Regions from separate parts of the Homo sapiens genome. Here region 1 is linked to region 2. The links are contacts of gene promoters, found by promoter capture Hi-C in blood cells and fetal thymus (Javierre and others, 2016). All regions are on one chromosome and are shown on one strand. The core of a region is centred on a gene start or on the middle of the fragment in contact, and the rest is flanking DNA. Distances in the headings are between cores, read along the strand shown.

Evidence for each region. Contacts are between HindIII fragments. The CHiCAGO score rates a contact against its expected background, and 5 or more counts as called.
Region 1: a fragment that was not itself captured here is called in contact with the fragment with the promoter of PRRT4 in region 2 in 1 of 17 cell types (neutrophils); the score reaches 6.8 in neutrophils.

What each region holds. Positions count from the first base shown.
Region 1 is chr7:127,691,327-127,695,235 of GRCh38, forward strand. It overlaps SND1 (staphylococcal nuclease and tudor domain containing 1), which reads left to right. Exons shown (of 24, transcript NM_014390.4): 3 at 3,502-3,622. Among named protein-coding and RNA genes, the nearest start is that of SND1, 41 kb to the left of the region's middle. The HindIII fragment of the contact is 1,087 bases long and covers 1,146-2,232 here.
Region 2 is chr7:128,359,168-128,363,126 of GRCh38, forward strand. PRRT4 (proline rich transmembrane protein 4) reads right to left here and starts at 2,523. Exons shown (of 6, transcript NM_001174164.2): 1 at 2,394-2,523; 2 at 2,139-2,255; 3 at 173-896; 4 at 1-86. The coding sequence starts at 824. RefSeq lists enhancers at 1-720, 721-1,589, 1,590-2,458. The HindIII fragment of the contact is 16,343 bases long and covers 1-3,959 here.

The sequences.
Region 1 (3,909 bases), core at 439-2,938, 670 kb before region 2:
GGTCAGGAGTTCGAGACCAGCCTGGCCAACATGGTGAAACCTTGTCTCTACTAAAAATACAAAAAAAATTAACCGGGCGTGGTGGCATGTGCGTGTAGTCCCGGCTACTCGGGAGGCTGAGGCAGGAGAATTGCTTGAACCCGGGAAGCGGAGGTTGCAGTGAACCAAGATTATGCCACTGCATTCCAGCCTGGCGACAGAGCGAGACTCCGTCTCAAAAATAAATAAATAATTAAATAAAACAAACTAAAAGAAGGTAAAAAATAAAAAAATAAATATTTTGCTGTTTTTGTTTGTTTGTTTTTAGATGGAGCCTCGCTTTGTCGCCCGGGCTGGAGTGCAGTGGCGCAATCTTGGCTCACTGCAACCTCCACCTCACAGGTTCAAGCAATTCTCCTGTCTCAGCTTCCCAAGTAGCTGGGATTGCAGGCGTGCGCCAACATGCCTGGCTAATTTTTTTTTTTTTTTTTTTTTGTATTTTCAGTAGAGATGGAGTTTCACCATGTTGGCCAGGCTGGTCCTGAACACCTGACCTCAGGTGACCTGCCAAGAGTCTTGGCCTCCCAAAGTGTTGGGATTACAGCCGTGAGCCTCCCAAAGTGCTGGGATTACAGGCCCGGCCATATTTTGCTATTATTTTAAAAAAGAAATGAATGTCACAATCCTGCATTCATTGGAGCTGTTGAGGACTGGGGTAGCTGGGGAAAGACGGCAGAGCAGGATTATCAGTTACATATCCAGATGGCACGGTGGGGTGGTTGGAAGAGAAAGAGGGACAAAAAGTATTGAATGTTGGGTCATTTACCTAGTAACTAGTTAAGGTTTTACATTCTGGGGTTTCATCTTGTCCTGGTAGTTTTAAGAGTCTATCTGGTCAAAGAGAAGATTAGAATTAAAAGCTCAGTTTCATTGTGGTAGATATGACAACCTTTCTTGGGTCTGGAAGTTCTGAGCAGGCCGCCAGATTGCCTGCAGTTGGGCATTCTAAAGGAAAGAGTAATTTTGAGTCTCAACTTCTTAAAAGCCACTTGCTTCTTAGATGGGACTCTGGGGCATCATTTGAATAGACCACAGTTATTCTTCCTGTTAGACCATTCTGGCCCTTATTTGAATAAATGCTTTGAGCAAATTTCCTTATTTGAGCAAGCTTCTGTTAGGATAGACTTCTCCATCAGATAGTCCTCTGCCTGGCTGTCCTTTGTGTGGACACATGGGTAACACTGGCCTCACTTCCATAAGGGTTCTGTCCCAGAGCACTCTCTTGCCCTCAGAGGAGTGATGTGGTCAGTTGCTTTCCTCTATAGCTCTTTGAGTCTCTTGATTGCCTCTCTTCTTAACTAATATCTTGTCCAGTTATTGAATTTGCCCAACTCTGGACGGAACACACTTGAGAAGGCTTATTTAGGAAGGAAGATTGCAGAAACTAGGTTATTTTTTCTTACACGGTTAGGCATATGTCCTTTGCAAGACCTCCAGTGTGGTTTTCTCTTATTGACCGGTAACTAACCAGCTGGAAAACATGAGGTCCTAAGGGGAAGATGTTTCTTCAGCGAGCCTTAAAAGTTTTTTAGAAAAGTTCTGCCTGGTTGGTAGAAATTGGAGATTTCCCTGCAGGGGCTAGTTATTTTCCTGTGAACTGACCTTTTGTAAAAGTGTTTTCACCAAAGTCTTGGCCTCTTTTAGGAGCACTGGTCTTATCAGAGCTTTTCCAAGTATTTAGGAAAGCTCTATGTTACTGAATTTTAAATATTAATACTCAGGACTACATCTTAAACTTATCTGTAGCTGTGTATGTTTTTGGAGTAAGTTGATCCCTAAGGTAATAAAAATTTGGGACGCTTTGTTCATTGGTTCGGTGCTGTTTCTGTGATGTGGTTGATAATTGGGATCATTTGTCAATCATCAGACTCTTTGGTGACTGGTATCTGATTTTATTTTTGGAGATTGGGGTGGGGGGTAGAAATGAGACATAAAATCAAGGTGAACTTGATATTGTCATTGAGTGAATTGGGTTGGCCTCTGCTTTGAAGAGAGGGCATGATGTGAGCAAGTATCTGTTCATTTTTGCATCTTTAAGAACCCTTACTGAGGATCAGTTCTCTAGAACCTCATGATTTATGTTATGTAACAGTACTGTTTTTATGACTACCAGCCCAACAGTTTGGTGGACCTGCCACCTTTTGATTGGTTTCTGGTTTCTTAGAAGTCATATGGATATTTTTCTTCTAGAAAAGCTTGTTGGGTGACTTCATGGAATAATTAGCATGGACCAAAAAGGTTAACAGAGGCTTCCTTTCAGGCCATCAGTTTACTCTTTTGCCTTTACTGTGTGTAGCATGAGTTCTGTGGTTTGAAGAGATTATAATAGACAATGTATGCATATTGTATATCACTTTTCCCTTTTATACTTCACATTTTTTTCAGCATGTGAGCTCCTACTAATCATACGCTCCTTGAACACCTACCCCATCCCTCCCCATTTTGGTACTAAGGGAACTTGGGACATTAAACCAGGTCCAGACTATAAGTTCAAGTGCCAGTGGCCACTGTGCCAATGGCTTCAGAGGAGAATCTCCCTTTGTCTGAACCATCCCAGGAGTGATAGGATGGGGAGGGGCAAAACCACCCCTTTGTGTATTATCTTGAGATGACATGGAGACTCTGCTTCTACTGTGTGGATGTGTAGCTCAGTCCTCGTGTCTGTGCATGGAACGGTGAGAGGAAAGAATCACCATTATCAAGGTGATCCTTTGTCAGGGGCTGTTACTGGTGTCCTCCCAAGGATGTTGGGACCTGTAAAGGCTTCAGACTAGAGCAGAAGTAGAAGAAGAGCCATTTTGGGGGATATCTTCTTACTATTGCTGATCTTTAAAGAGGGGAGTGGAGATGACTTAAATAAGGCTCACTTGAGCAGGGGATTCACTCTGAAATAAGAACACTAGAATCATGTCCCTCCTCCAACAATGGCTTTAACTGGTTTCAGGCTAGTTTAATAGGCAGTGAAACTGTTTTAGAAACTGGAAAGAGGCGGAGAAATGGAGGTGGTAGTTGTTATTTATGACTTCCCTCTGCCTAGGTGGGTTCCTGGAGCCTGGACTTCCCATTTGAAGGAGTGGGTTGATATATATACAGCATTTAGAGCAGTGGCTGGCACATGGTATGTGCTATAAAAGCATTGGCAAATGTTATTCACAAAGTAAGCTATAACTCTGAACAGACAGTGATAGGGAAAAAGTCCTGCTGCCAGTGTCTGGAAAACTCTGAGGCCTGTTTTTAGTGTCTGTGTTAGTTAAACCAACTGCTGGACCCTCCTTTTTTTATGAGCCCCCTAAGTGTGCGATCTGCATTGTGTGCATTTCATTTTTATATTCTCAAGGTCCAGCGCAGGGCCAGGACCATGGTAGGTACTCAGACATTTACTGAAGGTATGAAGTTGCTTGAATGCTGATTGGCATCTGAAACTAGGCAGTTCTCATGTGACATATTTGTTTTGTCTTTCAGCCCTGGGCATTTCCAGCTCGAGAGTTCCTTCGAAAGAAGCTGATTGGGAAGGAAGTCTGTTTCACGATAGAAAACAAGACTCCCCAGGGGCGAGAGTATGGCATGATCTACCTTGGAAAAGGTGAGCTGCAGGGAGAGGACTCATTTCTCTCAAGTCTAAAGTTCTGTTAAAGATCAGTTTTCTTGTGGTGGAAGGCCAGTGTGGGTTCTGGTGGAGGAAGCTCTAGGACAGTTGGCTGAAGGCATAAATGCAAATGCTTTGGGCCCTGAGCACAGGGAATATATGTGTACAGAGGCATGCCCCCGGTGTTCCTGTTCCTTGTGTACCCCTTTTCCTGCTTTGGTTTAGGTGCATGTAGTATAGAGTTGCATTCTTCCTCATGTTTAGGCCATTCACTCATGGAACTC
Region 2 (3,959 bases), core at 1,273-3,772:
AGAGGCAGAGCTTGTGGATGTAGTTTCACCTGGGGGGCTCAGGCCGGAGAAGTTCCGGAGTGGGGACAGAGTAGTGCCAAAGAATCCTGCAAAAGAAGCCCAGGCTGAAGCTGCCTCCTACCTGCCAGGGGTGCCCAGCAGGGGCTTTCCTTGGGATGGGGTGGTTACTCACCAAAGGGTCCCAGGCGCCCAGCAATCTCTGCCAGGCTGGCCCGCAGGCTGGGCAGCAGGGGCAGCGTTCGATGCCCAAGCGTGGGGGCTGCACCTGCTCTCAGTGCCATGTCAAACTTCAGCTCCAGCTCGCTCTGGTGGGGCCTGGGAGCACTGGATGGAAGTGCTGTCACCATCAGAGCAGTGTCCCAGGTCACAGTGCTCCTCCTGGGCTGATAGGGGGCAGTGGGCCCATCGCTGGGCCCAGAGCGCCGGGATGTGGACTCCGGAAGCAGGGAGGAGGCCCGGGGCTTTGAGCCACCTTCGGTGGAGCCCCACTCAGTGAGAGAGTTCCCTGAGGAGCCCACCAGCAATTCCCAAAGGGGGTCAGTCCTCAGCCCACTGGCCACCTCTTCCCCTGGCTCCTGGCCTGGCCCAAGAGAGAGTGGCTGGGTCTCTGTGACTGGGCTCCCCCAGACAGCAGCAGGTCCCCGAAGATGGAATTTGAAGTTAAGTCCCAGGTTGAGAGACAGCATAGAGGCCTCACTTTGAGGTACGGGGGTCAAAGTGGTGGCAGGGGCACCTGGGATGGAGGGGGTGGGCTGGGGGCCCACAGTAGCAGCAAACAGGACGCAGCAGAACAGTCCCAGCCCTAGACAGCCATGCCTGGCCATGGCCCCACCTGGCTTCGGGTGGCCTTGGTGGGCAGGGACTCAGTTGTTCAGCAGCTTTTGAGGAGGAAGGTCCTGGAGAGAGGAGAGGCCCTGTGAGCCCTGGCTGTGGCCCCCCTCTTCCCTTTCCCAGGATCGGATGTCCCAGAGAGAGGCTTCTGATCTCAGAGAAGCAGGTAGTGTGGGCAGGATGCAAAGTGTCCTGTCCATGGCTCTGGCTCTTCTTGCCGGGCCCTTCCTGTACCTTCAGGCCCCAGCACAAATCCCTGCCTGGGGGTTCCTCCTTCCCCCTCTGCTCATGCAGAAGCTGGGGTCTGACTGCAACCAGGGGCCCTCATCCTTAACTAGTAGCAAAAGGGATGGACTTGGGCTTCCAGACATGGATTCCTCTCTTCCTTCCCTCTGCTGAGCCTCAAGTCTTTACGCAGGCTTACCGTTTGCCAAGCACCCTTCTGGGCATATAACTGTGAACAAGCAAGCCCTTCCGATGTCTTGACCTATTCCAACCCCCACCTCCCGCCCCAGCCAGAAGTGCTGGCGCCCTCACTCTCAGACCCCAGGGGGCACAGGGCCTCGGGAGGGGTAAAGCCAGAGCTGAGTGATCTGGCCCAGTCAGAAGGCCGCCCAGGCTCTGGCCAGAGAAGCAAGGTTCCCAATCTGGCAGAAGCACCCTCCCTCCCGCCCCTCCCGTTTCCTGGGGCTGGGCCTGTTCCCTTCCCTAGGACCCTTGAAGTATTCGGGGGAGGGGCAGCTTGGCGATCTCCGGCTTCCTGGAGGAGAACGCCAGGCAGGCAAGCTGGGCGAACTGCAGGCAGCTGCGGCGGACTCCTACCCCCTCCCCAGAACTCTCTCCTCTGTGCGCACACATCTGGTGGGGGAAGGGAGGGTGAGCCAGGGACACACATGCACCCGGCACCCTTACATCACACACATAGCCACATCTAGCGCCCGTGACACACTCACCCGTCACATACCCCCCTGCCCCTGCACGCGCGCGCGCACACACACACACACACTCCGTCCTGCCGAGCCACTCTCCTCCCTGCATGGGTTCAAACCCAAGCTCTGTGAGCCCCCGGCCTCCCCTGTCTCTCTCTCTCTCTCTCTCTCTCTCTCACACACACACACACACACACACACACACACACACACGGCATGTACTGTACAGAGATGCACACCCCCTACACACATTCACACACACAGACATGCCACACACCGCCATCCCCCCACACTCGTACACGCCCACCACCCCTCGCAGGCACACATGCACACACGCGCGCGCACACGCACACACACCCCCAGCCCGGACCGGCCGACCTGCTCCCCGGGGTCTCTCCCGCAGGCAGGTCTCCTCGCCGAGCCTCCGAAAAGGGGCGGTCGTGGCGGCCCTGGCGCCCAGCTGGGCAACGCTTCGTGGTATCTCACCGCTTCTCTCTGTTGTGCCCAGCGCCCCGACTGAAGATCCGGACCTCCAGCCCCCGGCGGCCCCTCGCCTAGTCCAGAGACCGCAGCCTCGCCGCCCCGCTGCCCCTGAGCCGCCCCCGGCCCAGCCCCGGCCCGCAGCGCTCTCACCAGGCGGGCGGCCAGGCCCCGCGCTCCGCACTCCGCACTCCGCGCTCCCTCCCAGCGGCGCCGCCTCCTGGCTCCGAGCCTCGCTCCCCGGCGAAGCCGCCCGCGCCGGGGCTCCGCGGCAGCCGGCTCTGACGGCCCTCCCGTCCGCCCGCCCTCGCTCCCGCGCCCTCTCTCCTCCTCCTCCTCCTCCTCCTCCCACCCAGCCCGCCACCCGCGGTCCCCCCACACCCGGGCGGGCAGGCAGGCGCTCACAGCAGCGCGGAGCCGCGGCCACCTCGGTGCCGGGCGCCTCCACGCGCGCTCATTCACCCAGCGCTGTCAATCAGCCGCGGCGGGCGCCTCGCTGTGAGCCTGGCGAGAGCAATCACACACTCCCAGGGCGGCCCAGCACACACATCCACACGCGCGCCAGGAAACACACTCGCAGGTCAGAGGGCGCGCGCACACACGCGCACACATGGCAGCCTGCCCCAGGATGGCACCCCGGGCAATAAGAGTCCCACCGTTTGCTAAGTAGAAGTACAATGGACAATTCTACTTCCTTTATCTCATGAGTCCTCACCGCAACCCTGTGTATGTCGCCACTTTGCAGACAATTAAATGAAGACACAGAAAATTACCGAATTTGCCCAAGATTGCACAGCTTGGTAGAAACTCGAACCGTCTCCCTGCCGGCCCTCTCCACCACCTGGTGGTTTTCAACAGTTGCACTGCTACACAGCAGTGCCTCCAACACTTCACCGGTGAACTGCCAAATGCCAATCCCTGTGTGACATGTCTTTTCGCTAAAACTGATCTCTCAAAAATACTGTTTCAGAAATGTCTGCCAGAAAGAATGGTGAGCTAAGCTGCTTGTGAGAAGTGGATTACAACTGGTTTCTAGTAAGAGGTGTGAGGAGAACAGTAAAATCAAAGGCTGGGTTCAGTGGTTCACGCCTGTAATTCTAACACTTTGGGAGGCTGAGGCAGGCTGATCGCTTGAGCCCCGGGGTTCAAGAACAGCCTGGGCAACATAGCAAAAGATAAAATAAAAACAAACAAACAGCAAGCAAGCAAGCAAGCAAGCAAGAAAAAAAGAAGAAAGAAAGAAATTATCTGGGCGTGATGGGGTATGGTGGCAGACACCTGTAGTCCCAGCTATTTGGGAGGCTGAGACTGGAGGATTGCTTGAGCCTGGGAGGTGGAGGTTGCCGTGAGCTGTGATCATACCGCTACACTCCAGCCTGGGCAACAGAGCAAGACCCTGTCTCAAAAGGAAAAACAAAGAAAAAAGAGCGTGCCCCTTCACAGAAAGTAAGAGAGCTCAGGCAAAAGCTGACACAGGTTGAAGATGACCAAGAAAACCGAGCAGTCACTATGTATACTTCATGGAACCTGTTAAGTTGTAGTAGTGACTAACTGAAGTACTACTGACTCATTCATGTGGTTTTGAGTCTCTAAATCCCTTCATGTTTTCTTCAAACAATGATAGTAATTTAAAAGTATCAGAACATGAAACACTTCTGTCTCCCTGCACCATTTAAAACTTTCCCTCAAAATCTAAACATCCAACTGTGTGCCAAGAAT